Regions from separate parts of the Homo sapiens genome. Here all the other regions are linked to region 4. Evidence: promoter capture Hi-C in human tissues and cell types (Jung and others, 2019). All regions are on one chromosome and are shown on one strand. Each heading gives the region's core, a stretch centred on a gene start or on the middle of the fragment in contact. The rest is flanking DNA. Distances are from core to core; before and after follow the strand shown.

The links. The method cuts DNA at HindIII sites, captures the fragments that hold promoters and counts their contacts. A contact is called where the count stands out against the background at its distance.
Region 1: a fragment that was not itself captured here is called in contact with the fragment with the promoter of B3GALT2 in region 4 in 1 of the 25 tissues and cell types used here (mesenchymal stem cells).
Region 2: a contact is called between a fragment that was not itself captured here and the fragment with the promoter of B3GALT2 in region 4, in 1 of the 25 tissues and cell types used here (mesenchymal stem cells).
Region 3: a contact is called between a fragment that was not itself captured here and the fragment with the promoter of B3GALT2 in region 4, in 1 of the 25 tissues and cell types used here (H1 embryonic stem cells).

What each region holds. Positions count from the first base shown.
Region 1 is chr1:193,670,149-193,673,266 of GRCh38, reverse strand. The region is part of intron 3 of LOC124904475 (a long non-coding RNA gene); the gene reads right to left. Among named protein-coding and RNA genes, the nearest start is that of LINC01031, 370 kb to the right of the region's middle. The HindIII fragment of the contact is 3,906 bases long and covers 1-3,118 here.
Region 2 is chr1:193,482,954-193,486,050 of GRCh38, reverse strand. All of the region lies in intron 3 of LOC124904475 (a long non-coding RNA gene), which reads right to left. Among named protein-coding and RNA genes, the nearest start is that of LINC01031, 180 kb to the right of the region's middle. The HindIII fragment of the contact is 3,425 bases long and covers 26-3,097 here.
Region 3 is chr1:193,694,604-193,697,744 of GRCh38, reverse strand. The region is part of intron 3 of LOC124904475 (a long non-coding RNA gene); the gene reads right to left. Among named protein-coding and RNA genes, the nearest start is that of LINC01031, 390 kb to the right of the region's middle. The HindIII fragment of the contact is 5,530 bases long and covers 1-3,141 here.
Region 4 is chr1:193,184,914-193,188,124 of GRCh38, reverse strand. B3GALT2 (beta-1,3-galactosyltransferase 2) reads left to right here and starts at 1,512. Exons shown (of 2, transcript NM_003783.3): 1 at 1,512-2,106. The region is part of intron 10 of CDC73 (cell division cycle 73); the gene reads right to left. The HindIII fragment of the contact is 2,577 bases long and covers 564-3,140 here.

The sequences.
Region 1 (3,118 bases), core at 365-2,864, 490 kb before region 4:
TGAAACTTACAATTATGGCAGAAGGCACCTCTTCACAGGGCAGCAAGAGAGAGAATGCTGGAGCATGGGAAATGACAAACACATATAAAACCATCAGATCTCATGAGAACTCACAGTCACAAGGACAGCATGGAGCAACCCACCCCCATGATCCAATCACTTCCCTCCCACAACATGTGGGGATTGTGGGAACTACAATTCAAGATGAGATTTGGGTAGGGACACAGAGCCAAACCATATCAAACACCTATATGTAAACTTATTTCACCCATGTCTTTCCAAATAATAAAGTGCAAGTCAATATTTCTTTAAGAGCAACAGATGGAATTTACTTGTGCCAACAAATTCAGGCTTTGCAAAGACTTCATAAAGATGCAAAAGCTTCAAAAAAAATTTCCCACTGTGTAAATATCAAGTATTTTTCTTTACCAATTCTTTAATACACCAAGGATGTATTGTTGTTCCCAAGACACACACATTTGTACATACACATATCCTGCACCTGGCACACTGGAATAATGTCAAATGTGTTTACTTCAATAATTACCTTCAAACAAACACATGTAGTGATTTTATCTGAATGTCAGCTCCCACATGGCACTTTCCTTGTCTAGCTAAGGCCTTGAGGAAGTAAATTAATGGATCAAAACCTGGGAAAACTCTAATCTAGCCCTTGAAACATAGAAATCGGGAATTTTAAGATTTCCCCAGAGGTATTACTATTCTTTTCAAATAACACTCCTAAGGAAAAGGCAGTTAAATCATTCAAGGAAACTTGGTCATTAGAAATGACAACATACCACATACCCATAAACCAGTAGAAAGTTATTACTAAGGTGGAAATAATGGCTTTTGTAATTTTTTATACATATCAAAGATGAAGAAGCATATATGATATAATAGCATATTTCTCCTTTCTAGAACAGTGGTTCTCAACTTTGGCTGTATCTTGTATCTCAGGATCTCTGCAAAATACAGATGACTAGGACCTCTCCCAGATATTCTGATTTAATCAGTCTTTAGTGTGGCTTTGGCATCCTGCATTTTTTATAGACTCCCAGGGATTTCTTATGTCTAGGAAAGATTGACAATTATTGGTCTAGAAGAAATAGTTATGTGGACATTGTGACCTTATGCACTACAGGGTCATTAACTATTATACTTGGAGGTCAGAAGTAATGTGGAAAGCTGGTTGATAAGTTCTTATAAGTAATCATCGCAACCAATGAGTGATTACTATTTTGAAGTTCTCATTCAGGTTTTCTTTAAGAGTTTGAATGATATGGGCTCTCTTAATTTTGTTACAAATGTAAACATATACAGCATAGCCAGGCAAACCTATGAGTTAGTTAACACCTTGCCATGACTCCCCAAGAATTACATGCTCTACTCAGTACAGTCCAGCAGCAGTTCCCCTAGCAATCAAGTCACTTCATGACTCCATGCCTTTACACAAACTGTTCTCTATAGACTAGCAATCTAAGTTTTTGAAGTAATTGTGAATGTATGTGTTTCTTACTAGTTAACATTTACTAGCATTTGTTTTTGTTGTTATTGTAAATTGTACTTGCGTTAGCCAGGATACATCCTTAAATTCAATTGCAGGGGTGGGAGGAGTTGCACGGGATAGAACATAGGCTGACACAGACTCCAGCAAACTGTAACTGCACCACCTGGATGATGGAACCTCCTCCGACCTTCCAGGAGGTAGACAGCTGACAATTCAGGTACTATTCTCTGCTTTAGTGTCTAGGTAGTAGATATCACTTCTTTTCACAGCTTATTGGCCAAAACAAGCCAAATAGCCCAAACTATCTGCAGTGGGCTGGAAGTATGTGAAAGTAGATTCGGTACTTTAACCAACTGAGCATCAGCACATTGATTAGTTTGTGATGCCTTCACAAGACCAGAAGGAAGGATTCTGCATGTGTTACATGGCTCATAATTATTAAGAAAAAGCTGGAAGAGATTTGTTTTTTAATTAGATCAACCAGTACTATAATTCATCTGTAGCTCTCTATGTGCCATAATTCCAACCACTGAAAGAGATATTGTTTGAGGCAACAATATAATAAAATTAACAGACATTTGGATGATTACAAAATTATCTATCATTACAATATTATGTTAAGAGGGCTCAGTTAGCCAGTAGCTTCATATACTGCACCTCTAAACCCATTTCATCTAGCTCATGCCTAGCATCTGATAACAATAGCAGACTTTGGCTGTACCATTATAAATCCCTCAGTATCATTATCTGACAACTTAAAGTACATGCTCTACTATAAGTCATTTTTGCTTACGAGGACACTCACACTCACTGATCTAGTTACTTTATTGTCAATCTTCATTTTAAAAATTACCAAAAAAAGTTCATTCCACATGGAACACTATGCAGCCATAAAAAAGGATGAGGTCATGTCCTTTGCAGGGACATGGATGAAGCTGGAAGCCATCATTCTCAGCAAACTATCACAAAGACAGAAAACAAAACATTGCATGTTCTCACTCATAGGTGGGAATTGCACAATGAGAACTCAAGGACACAGGGCAGGGAACATCACACACCAGGGTCTGTCGTAGGGTGAGGGGCTGGGGGAGGGACAGCATTAGGAGAAATACCTAATGTAAATGACCAGTTAATGGGTACAGTAAGCCAACATGGCATATGTATACCTATGTAACAAACCTGCATATTGTAAATAAATAAAATAAATAAATAAATAAATAAATGGAAAAAAGTTAATTCCAGAGGCTTTCATTATTCATTCATTACTTTGCTTACCTTTTGGGGCTACTTTTGACAGCAGAAAAAGTACTTCAAAAATAAAAATAGTATTTCCCTTTCTGCAATATGTCCATAAAATAGAAAAATCTATGTTTATTGCATGCCTACAGTATACAATTTGCTTCTAAATCATTAAATCCAATAAAACATTTCTTCAAAGTAAATAGTTTTGAGATTAACATATTTCAGTATTTTAAAACCACCTCAGTTCTTCACTGCAAACAGAATTAAACAGTTATATGAAACAAGATACCATAAGTTTTCCTGTGTAGGTATTTAGATTAGCCATTGAGACTACTGTGATAGCAAATCTTTCTCTCTTTTTGACAT
Region 2 (3,097 bases), core at 489-2,988, 300 kb before region 4:
AGTTGTACAAGTTCCATGTGTATTTTAGATATTAACCCCTTATTGGCTATACAGTTTGCAGATATTCTCTTCTAATCTATAGGCTGCCTTCTCATATTGTTGTTTCCTTTGCTATGCCACAATGTTTTAGTTGCATTTAGTCCCACTCTTTTTTGCCTTTGTTGCCTGTACTTTTAGTGTCATATCAAAATATCAATGCCAACATCAGTGTCATAGAGTTTTTCCCCTATGTCTTCTTCTAAGTTTTATGGCTCCAGTTTTTAAGTCTTTAATCCATTGTTAGTTTCTTTGTATGTATGGTGAAATCAGATTTTTTTTGGCACGTGGATATCCAGTTTCACCAATGCCATTTATTGAAGAGACTATCTTTTCCCTGTGGCATATTCTTGCCGGCTTTGTCAGAGATTAGATGACAATATATGCATGAGTTTATTTCTGGGATCGCTATTCTGTCCCATTGGTCTATGTGTCTGTTTTTACTCTGGTACCATATTGTTTTGATTACTACAGTTTTGTAATATAATTTGAAGTCAGGAAGTATGATGCCTATAGCTTTGTTCTTGCTCAAGATTGTGTTACCTATTCCAGGTCTTTTGTGGTTCCATATGAATTTTAGAATTGTTTTTTATATTTCTGTAAAAAATTCCATTGGAATTCTGACAGGGATTGCACTGAATATGTAGATTGCTTTGGGCAGCACGGACACATACAAATGACCAACAGGTAAATGAAAAGTTGCTCAACATTACTAATTATCAGGGATAAGCAGAGAAAAATCACAATGAGATACCACCTCACATATGATGGCTATTATCAAAGTCAAAAGATAGGTGTTAAGGATGTAAAGAAAAGGGAACCCTTATACATTGTTGGTGGAAATGTAAATTGGTTCAGTCATTATGGAAAACAGTATGAAGATTCATTGAAAAATTAAAATGCAACTAACATATGATCCAGCAATCCCACTTCTTGGTATATAATCACGCATGACTTAACAACAGAAATACATTGAGATGTGCTTCCTTAGACAATTTTGTCACATGAATGTCATTGAGTATGCTTACACAAACCTAGATTCTATAGGCTACTACACACCTAGGCTGCAGACCTGAATAGCATGTTACTGTAAAAAATACTGTAGGCAATCACAACATAATGGTAAGCGTTTGTGTATCTAAACATATTTAAACATAGAGAAGGTACCATAAACATGTGGTATGATTTTATGGGACCATCATCATATGTGCATCATATACATAAAAGAAATAAAATCACTATCTCAAAGATAATTCACATTCATTACAGCACATTCATTACAGCACTATTTGCAACAGCCAAGATATGGAAACAACCCAAGTATCCATCAGTGAATGCATGGATAAATTGTGGTGTGTATACACAATTTGCCTATGCATTCGTTGATGGATACTTGGGTTGTTTCCATATCTTCCACATGTAAGTCTATGATATATGTCTCTCATATATACATACACAAAATAGGATACGTATATTTTGTGTATACACAAATTATTCAACCTTTAAAAAGCAAACAATTTTCGGCCAGGTGCAGTGGCTCATGCCTGTAATTCCAGCACTTTGGGAAGCCTAGGCGGGCAGATCACGAGGTCAGGAGATCGAGACCATCCTGGCTAACACGATGAAACCCCGTCTCTACTGAAAATACAAAAAATTAGCCGGGCATGGTGGTGGGCGCCTGTAGTCCCAGCTACTCGGGAGGCTGAGGCAGGAGAATGGCATGAACCCGGGAGGCAGACCTTGCAGTGAGCCAAGATCACGCCACTGTACTCCAGCCTGGGTGACAGAGTGAGACTCCATCTCAAAAAAAAAAAAAAAAAAAAAAAGAAGAAACAATTTTCATTTGTAACATGGATGAACCTGAAGAATATTATGCAAAGTGACATAAGCCAAACACAGAAAGACATATTGCATGATTCATTTATATGTGAATTCTTAAAAAGTTGAACTCATAGATATAGCATAGAAGGTCAGGGAGGGAGATGTTGGTCAAAGAATACAAACTTGTAGTTATAAGACCATGCTAGTGTGAATACTGCTGCGATGAACATACATGTGCATGTGTCTTTAAAATAGAATGATTTATATTACTTTGGGTACTTACCCAGTAATGCGATTGCTAGGTCAAATATTTCTGGATGGGCTAAAGAAAATGTGGTACAGATATACCAGGGGATATCATGCAACCATGAAAAAGGAAAAGATTAAGTCCTTTACAGGGATACGGATGGAGCTGGAGGCCACTATTCTTAGCAAACTAATACAGGAAAAAAAATACCGCATGTTCTCACTCCTAAGTGGGAGCTAAATGACGAGAACACACGTGCACAGAGGGGAATCACACACTGGGGCCTTTCAGAGGGAGAGCATCAGGAAAAAATCATTAATGGGTACTGGGCTTAATATCTGGGTGATGAAATAATCTGTACAATAAACCCCCATGACACAAGTTTATCTGTGTAACAACCTGCACTTGTACCCCTGAACTTAAAAGTTAAAAAAAATTAAAAACAAAATTTGACTAATATAAAAAGACTAATATGCTCTGGAGGCCTAATGTATAGCATGGTGACTGTAGTTAACCTATACTTTAAATGTGATGAGATATGAGAGCAGTTCTCATCACAAAAAAAAGGTAACTGAAGTGAATATGTTAATTTGATTGTAGGAGCTAAAATATTTTATATGTATAATATGTAGAAAGTTATTTTACTCTTATCAGGTAAATAAGCAACAAATCTAAGATTAACTTATTCTATTATTTGAAGGTCACTACAGTTCCAGTAACTTTACCAGGCAAACAATGAAATAACTTAAGAGAAGTTGTCTGTTTGGATAAAGTGAATATAGCCATGCCTAAATACAGTACTACCTATTAAACGCATTCCTCAAGGCATATGAAGCTTATTCTAATAAGTTTATAATTCTAGGTTATAATTATGTATATTTAATGTACTCGGTTCATTCTCAACTAATTTGTAGTTCATGATCTAAACAGGCAAGAAGCCCTTAGAACACATTAAACACATTGTACCCACCTCCATGGCAAAAGGAGTGAGTG
Region 3 (3,141 bases), core at 411-2,910, 510 kb before region 4:
GGGAATCTGTTAGAATTGGGCAGTTTATGACATAATATCTTTGAAGTAGTGAGTGCAGTGTGGCAAGTATTGAAACAAGTCTTGATGTGTGTGTGTATAATACATAAATATATATATATTGCATATTATAATAAATTCATTATATAATAAATTCATTATATAATAAATATTATTAGATTAATATATAAATGTATCTAAATATATAAATGTTATTATATAATAAATAAATTTATTATAAGGATTAAATTATGGAGGCTGGCACGTCCTGAGATCCACAAGGTGAGTCAGCAAGCTGGAGACCCAGAAGAGCTAATGGTTTAGTTCCAGTCTGAGTACAGAACAGTTCCAGTTCAAAGGCCAGTAGCCTTGAGACCCAGGAGGAGCTGGCATTTCTGTTGAGTCAGAAGTCTGGCAAAACAATAGATATCCTAATTTGAAAGCCTCCAGGCAGGAAAAGTTCTCCCTTACTCCTGGGCGGGACAGCCTTTTGTTCTCTTCCTGCCTTCAACTGACTGGATTAGGCCCACCTATATGACAGGGCAATCTACTTTACTCAGTCTGTAAATGTTAATCTCATCAAAAAAGTCTCAGAAACACCAAGAATAATGCTTGAAAAAATACCTGGGAACCCTGTGGTTCAGTCAAGTTCATCCATAAAATTAACCATCACTCTTGATAAGTAAGCTACTTTAGTTGATTCACGTTGTGATCGTCCAGGAGTTAGTGGCTAAGTTATGTTTGCTTGTTGTCAGTACAGTTTCACATAGGAACCATGTGTCCTGGTATGGGTTAATTATTTTGGCCTCGGTTTCCAAACTTTTATCTTACTTTCTGTTAGAATTTCATGTTTAAAAAGAAAGGTCCTTAAGCCAATGCAGTCAAATTTCCTAACCAAGAAATCTAATAGTTACCTTATAACTAACAAATTTGACATTACACTGCTAAATACGAAAACTACATGAACAGCTTGAGCATATCCAGATAAACAATATTTTCACATAGTACATGCAGAGAGTTGAGGAAATATTTTGGAGTTTAAAATATCTAGATAGTTATCTCAGTCCCCATCTGATAGTGAAGATGCACCCTTATTTCTTTGCCACAGTTGATCTCCATAGTGCAAACAGAGTAAAGTTTGGGAATTTCCCAAATAATATGATCAAAATAAAACTTCTGGTAAAACAATTCAGGTGCTAAAGGAGAACTTCTGTTTTGAGAAAAGTAACTGGAGTGATCACCAAATCTCTATTGCTACAGATCAAGCATGGCACACTACAATCCTGGTAGTTCATGGGAACACAGCCACTCCATTTATATATTGTCTCTGCTTGCTTCTGCCCAACAACAGTGCCAAAGTTGAAACACTGCAACAGAGACTCTATGACCTAGAAGGCCTAAAATATTTACTATCTGGCCCTTAATAGAAATACTGCCAGTCTCTGATGTAGTTAGATAAATTTATACACAGTTTTACGCAGAACCAAGCTAAATATTAATCCTATAAAAAACATTTCTCACCGACTTACAATCTTTTACAAAAATGCTTTTTCTTCTTAAATATCATTTTATCCTTTTTTCACGTTTATTTTATATATAATTTTCCATCAAGATTCTAAGCTCACTTAGTCTTCTAGGTTTCCTCAATGAAAAAAAAAAAAAAATCATTACAGCCCAATAAATGTGAAGTAACAATGACAAAGAGTTTAGTATATGTAACATAAAAATAATACATGACACTTAGCTGTAATATATCTAAAAGCATCTTAACATCACCATACGTTTGCTCTCATGTACTGTACTTTGGAGCCATTATAACATAATTGTTAGAGATAAATATTTGTCCCCCAAGTGCTAATTTATTGATGGACTCCTAACTTGCTCTCATCATGACAAAGCACCAGCTCAATCACTGAATGAATATTTATCTATGATGAATATTCATTTAATCCATGTCTTTACAAGGAGTTTCACCACTGACAAGGCAATAAACAAGCTTTTTTATGTCCGTTTTATTCTGGGTTCACTTGCTCTCTCCATTGCTATGGCTTTAGCAAGGTAAATTCTGTATGTTTGTGGCTTAATCTGGGAAATGTTAGTCTAATCTGTGTCCTACATTAGCTCTCTTAAACACAATATATAACCTCAAGAGCAGTGATTAATTAGTTCACAGATTTGCCATCTGCTTCACTCAAGCCCAACAAGGTGAGAAGAGACAAATTTGGACTAAAGAAAATGAATGTTAATGAGGTTGTGATTCTACCCTTTGAAACAAAAACAGAGGGTAAGCCTTCCATATGAGTAAGTGGTGTGCTGGTAAACATTTAATAACTGCGTTATTTCCCCAGGTTTATTGAGGTATAATTTAAAATTTAAAATTCTACATACTTAAGGTACACGGCTTGATGTTTACATATATACATAGGTGTAAAGTAATCATTGGGATCAAGCTAATTAGCATATCTATCACCTCACAAACATACTATTTTGGGTATATATATGTACGTATAGCAAGAACATTTAAGATTTACTTTCAGCAAATTTTAACTACACAATACAGTAATAACTCCAGTCAGCATGCTGTACATTAGGTCTCAGAACTTATTCATCCTGCATAGCTGAAACTTTGTATCCTTTGACCAACATCTCCCATTCCCAAAAACCTCAGCCCCTGGCAACCACCATTCTACTCTCTGCTTCCATGAGTTCAACTTTTTTAGATTACATGTATAAGTGAGATCATGCAGTATTTGTCTTGCTGTAACTGGCTTATTTCACTTAACATAATGCCATTTGGCTCCACTCATGTTGTTTTAAGTGACTGGATTTCCTTCTTTTTATAGGCTAATGCTCCATTGTGTATATACACCACATTTTCTTTATGTATTCATCCACTGGCAAACACTTAGGTTGTTTCTAGATCTTGGCTACTGTGAATAACGCTACAATGAACATGGGAGTGCAGATCTCTCTTTGGGGTACTGATTTTATTTTCCTTAGTTATGTATACAGAGTGGGATTGTTAGATCATAGGGTAGTTCTATTTTTAATTTTTTATGGAACTTCCATAGTTTTTTCCATAATGGCTATGTCAATTTACATTTCTACCCACTGTGTACAAGGGTTCCCTTTTCTCCAACCCCT
Region 4 (3,211 bases), core at 263-2,762:
TGGCTAGCTTCATAGTCAAATCCTATGTAAAGAATCACTGATAAATAAATACTGATCTACAAAAACACATCTGTACTTCTGGAAAATAAGTTATTTTAAGTAAGTTCTTAAGCATTACTCTGTTAACTAGTAAACTAATTTTAAAAACAAAACGGTAGTGAGTGAGAATTGCAGTATGGGTGGATATAGACTACAAGGAAGTTGGGTTTTAGTCCTCTCCTTCAAACTTAACTAGGAAAAGTCAAAGCTCAGTCTAGGCTTTAGGTTTCCTATTTATAAAATTCTTTTTTTTCTTTAACGATCCTTCTAACATTTCTAATACAGTGGGGTTCTTAAAACTACAAAGCACATTTCATCAGCAAAGCTCAAAAATATGTGGACAAAATTTTTTTTAATATCAGAGAAAACAAATTCATATTCATTTGAAATAGCATATATTAATGGTGGAGGCAGTGAGATGAAGAATATGTATATAACTGTTAACCTTTAGCTTAAGCTCCAAAACTATAACTTTCTAGGACTGAATTACTGTCCCTAGAGTCACAGAGGAAAAACTGATAATAAAGGCTTTTTACTACAACAAAAAATTTAAAAAAACCTTCCCTACTGCTCTGCAGTAAGAAAAGAAGGTGCCAGCCCCAGAAACTAACCATATTAGAAAAATCTCAGTGAGTGTGTAGTGTTAATAAAATCTGCCTCATGGCAAGTTATTAAATCTTTCTGAAACATTAGAATAAGTAAACATAATTAGTAAAATCTCATTACCCCCAGATCCTGTACAAGTGTGCTATATCTATTACATCATTTTACTGAATTCTACGATACATGTAATTTTAAAGGGAAGGAAAAATAAATAAAAAATAAATGACAACATTAAAAAGTGATTTAAAATAAAGTTTTCTGCCATCAAGAACACCAAAAACCACATAAGAGCAAAAAAGAAGTGGGCTGTATCACATCATGCATTAGTAAAGTAATCCAAGACAGCTTATTTATACAAACCCCAGAAAACGGGGGGGGGGATCTAAATTACAAAGATACATGGTTTCAATAGAAACCATAGGTCTTAACTACATATTAGTAAAAAATCAAGAGCAATTTGAAAGCAGAGAAAAAAAACTTCAAGAAGAGAATGCACTGAAGGGGTTAAATTACACCAACTTACACACAAAAGCTTATACTGCTTACACCCTACAAAAGCATGTAAGAAACATGAAAACCAACATCTAACACAGAAAACACTTAGAAAGCCTGTACTTAAGAATAAAGTTAAAAAAGGAAGTAAGCTGGAAAAAATAAAATCATAACCATTTCATAATCATCACATTTTCAAATTATTCACTCATCACTACACTTGCATTCAACATATATAATTTATCACATAAAAGCAAAATCTCTAAGCTTCTCCCTACCTTAGGTTTTTAGTCAAAATGAATGCAAACAATCACGTGGGATTCAGCCAAGCAGTGACGTTAAATTCTGCTCTGTCAGAGAGAGCATCTGTCAAGCCCACATTTAAACTGCTGCCTGCCTGTGCAGCAGCTGAGGAACCGTGGATTTCATATTATAGACTAAAACCCCATTAAAACTGCTCAAAATCCTTCCTGCAGCTGCCAGGCAACAACGAAAGAAGAGAGGTAAATCCTATTCTTTTCCAATACAACTGAAGCACTACATTTTAGCTCTGGCTGCTTTACATTGCAGCTCAGTGTTATTAGTAGAAATATGGATACTGAGACGAGAACACAGCACTGCATTGTCCAGCCAGGAAAATAGCAGATGTAAAAAGCTTCAATGCATCAACTGTCGGGAAGAGTCAACAGTGCTACAAGCAGAACGGGCAACTACAGCTCTTTTGTTTAACGAAAGAGAGAAAATGAAAGAAAGGGAAAATTTCAGAAGACTAGGACCCATATGAACAAGGAGGGTAACTCGAAGACAAGCAGACAGATGGACACTTTGGATACTGTGAAAAGCAATCGCAGGAGGCAGACTGTTGGGGGATGTGCGCATGTTCGATAGCATCTTTTTTGCTGAAGTGATGGCGTGCCAAAAGTATTTTCAGTGGGCATAATCCTCTTCACATAAATGGCCTGACCAAGGAAGGTATGTCAATATCTTGTGTATGATAGTCATTTAAATGTGTTACCTTTTTATAGCCCTGGAGGCACTAATACCTGATAAGCAAGTTCATACAGCTCACTGCCCTTGAAACTATGAAAAGGTTTCTTAATATCTGATTTTAAAATTTGTCATTGTTTAGAAGACAAGCTGTCACTGCTTTATGCAGCTAAATATGTAGCTTGGAGTAATTCTGGGTAATAGACATCAGAGGGAAAAGGCAAATAAGAAGAAGATGTGTTTAAAGGATTCCTTAAGAAATTAAACTTAAAAAAAAATCTGTAGCCCTTTACAAAAAACACAGCAATATTCTATCAAATTAGGTCAAACTGAATCCTTATCTAGTAAATTAAATGCTCTCTTAAAAATGGCTATCAAAAGACACAATGCAGTGAAATTTCATTAAATAGTAGCAAGGAAAACCTTAAGAGTTTTTTTTTCAAAGTCCTTTTAAAACAAAACCTTAATATGTAACAGCTTTTAGTAACAAAATCTTCCCCAACATCTCCCTAAATGAAGATAATGAACACAACCAAAGAGAGTATCAACAAATTTTAAATATTACCAAGCTACAAGAAGATACTAAAAGGAAAGCATTAACATAAGATCACATAAGGTAGTGTGAGTTTATGCATAACCCCACAATAGAGCCTCGTGTTATTATAGTGACCATGAATAGAACTTTAAACAAAGGGACATCAATAGTGGCTTTAAAAATTAACTATTTTAAATAGCTTACATTTTATGTAAAAGACTGATTCCAAATGATCAAATTTAACGTTGTCTCTGATTATCATTTCAGAAGTGAAATTCAAAAACATAATATGGAAATACTTTGATACAAAAATATCCACAAATGGCAATACAAGGTCAAAAAATTAAATATAAATGTAGCTACTATGCTTCCAGGCTATATTAATATGCAGTAATGAACTACCGCCACTATATGTGTGTGCAGGGCACAGATAAACCAAATAAACTATTTTAGCAACAATCATAGAACAGCAACTCAGGGCTCAAGAACTTAAAGATATTTCTAAAATTCTACAAATCTATCAAAGATCCTGATTTTTCCTCAATTTCACAACAC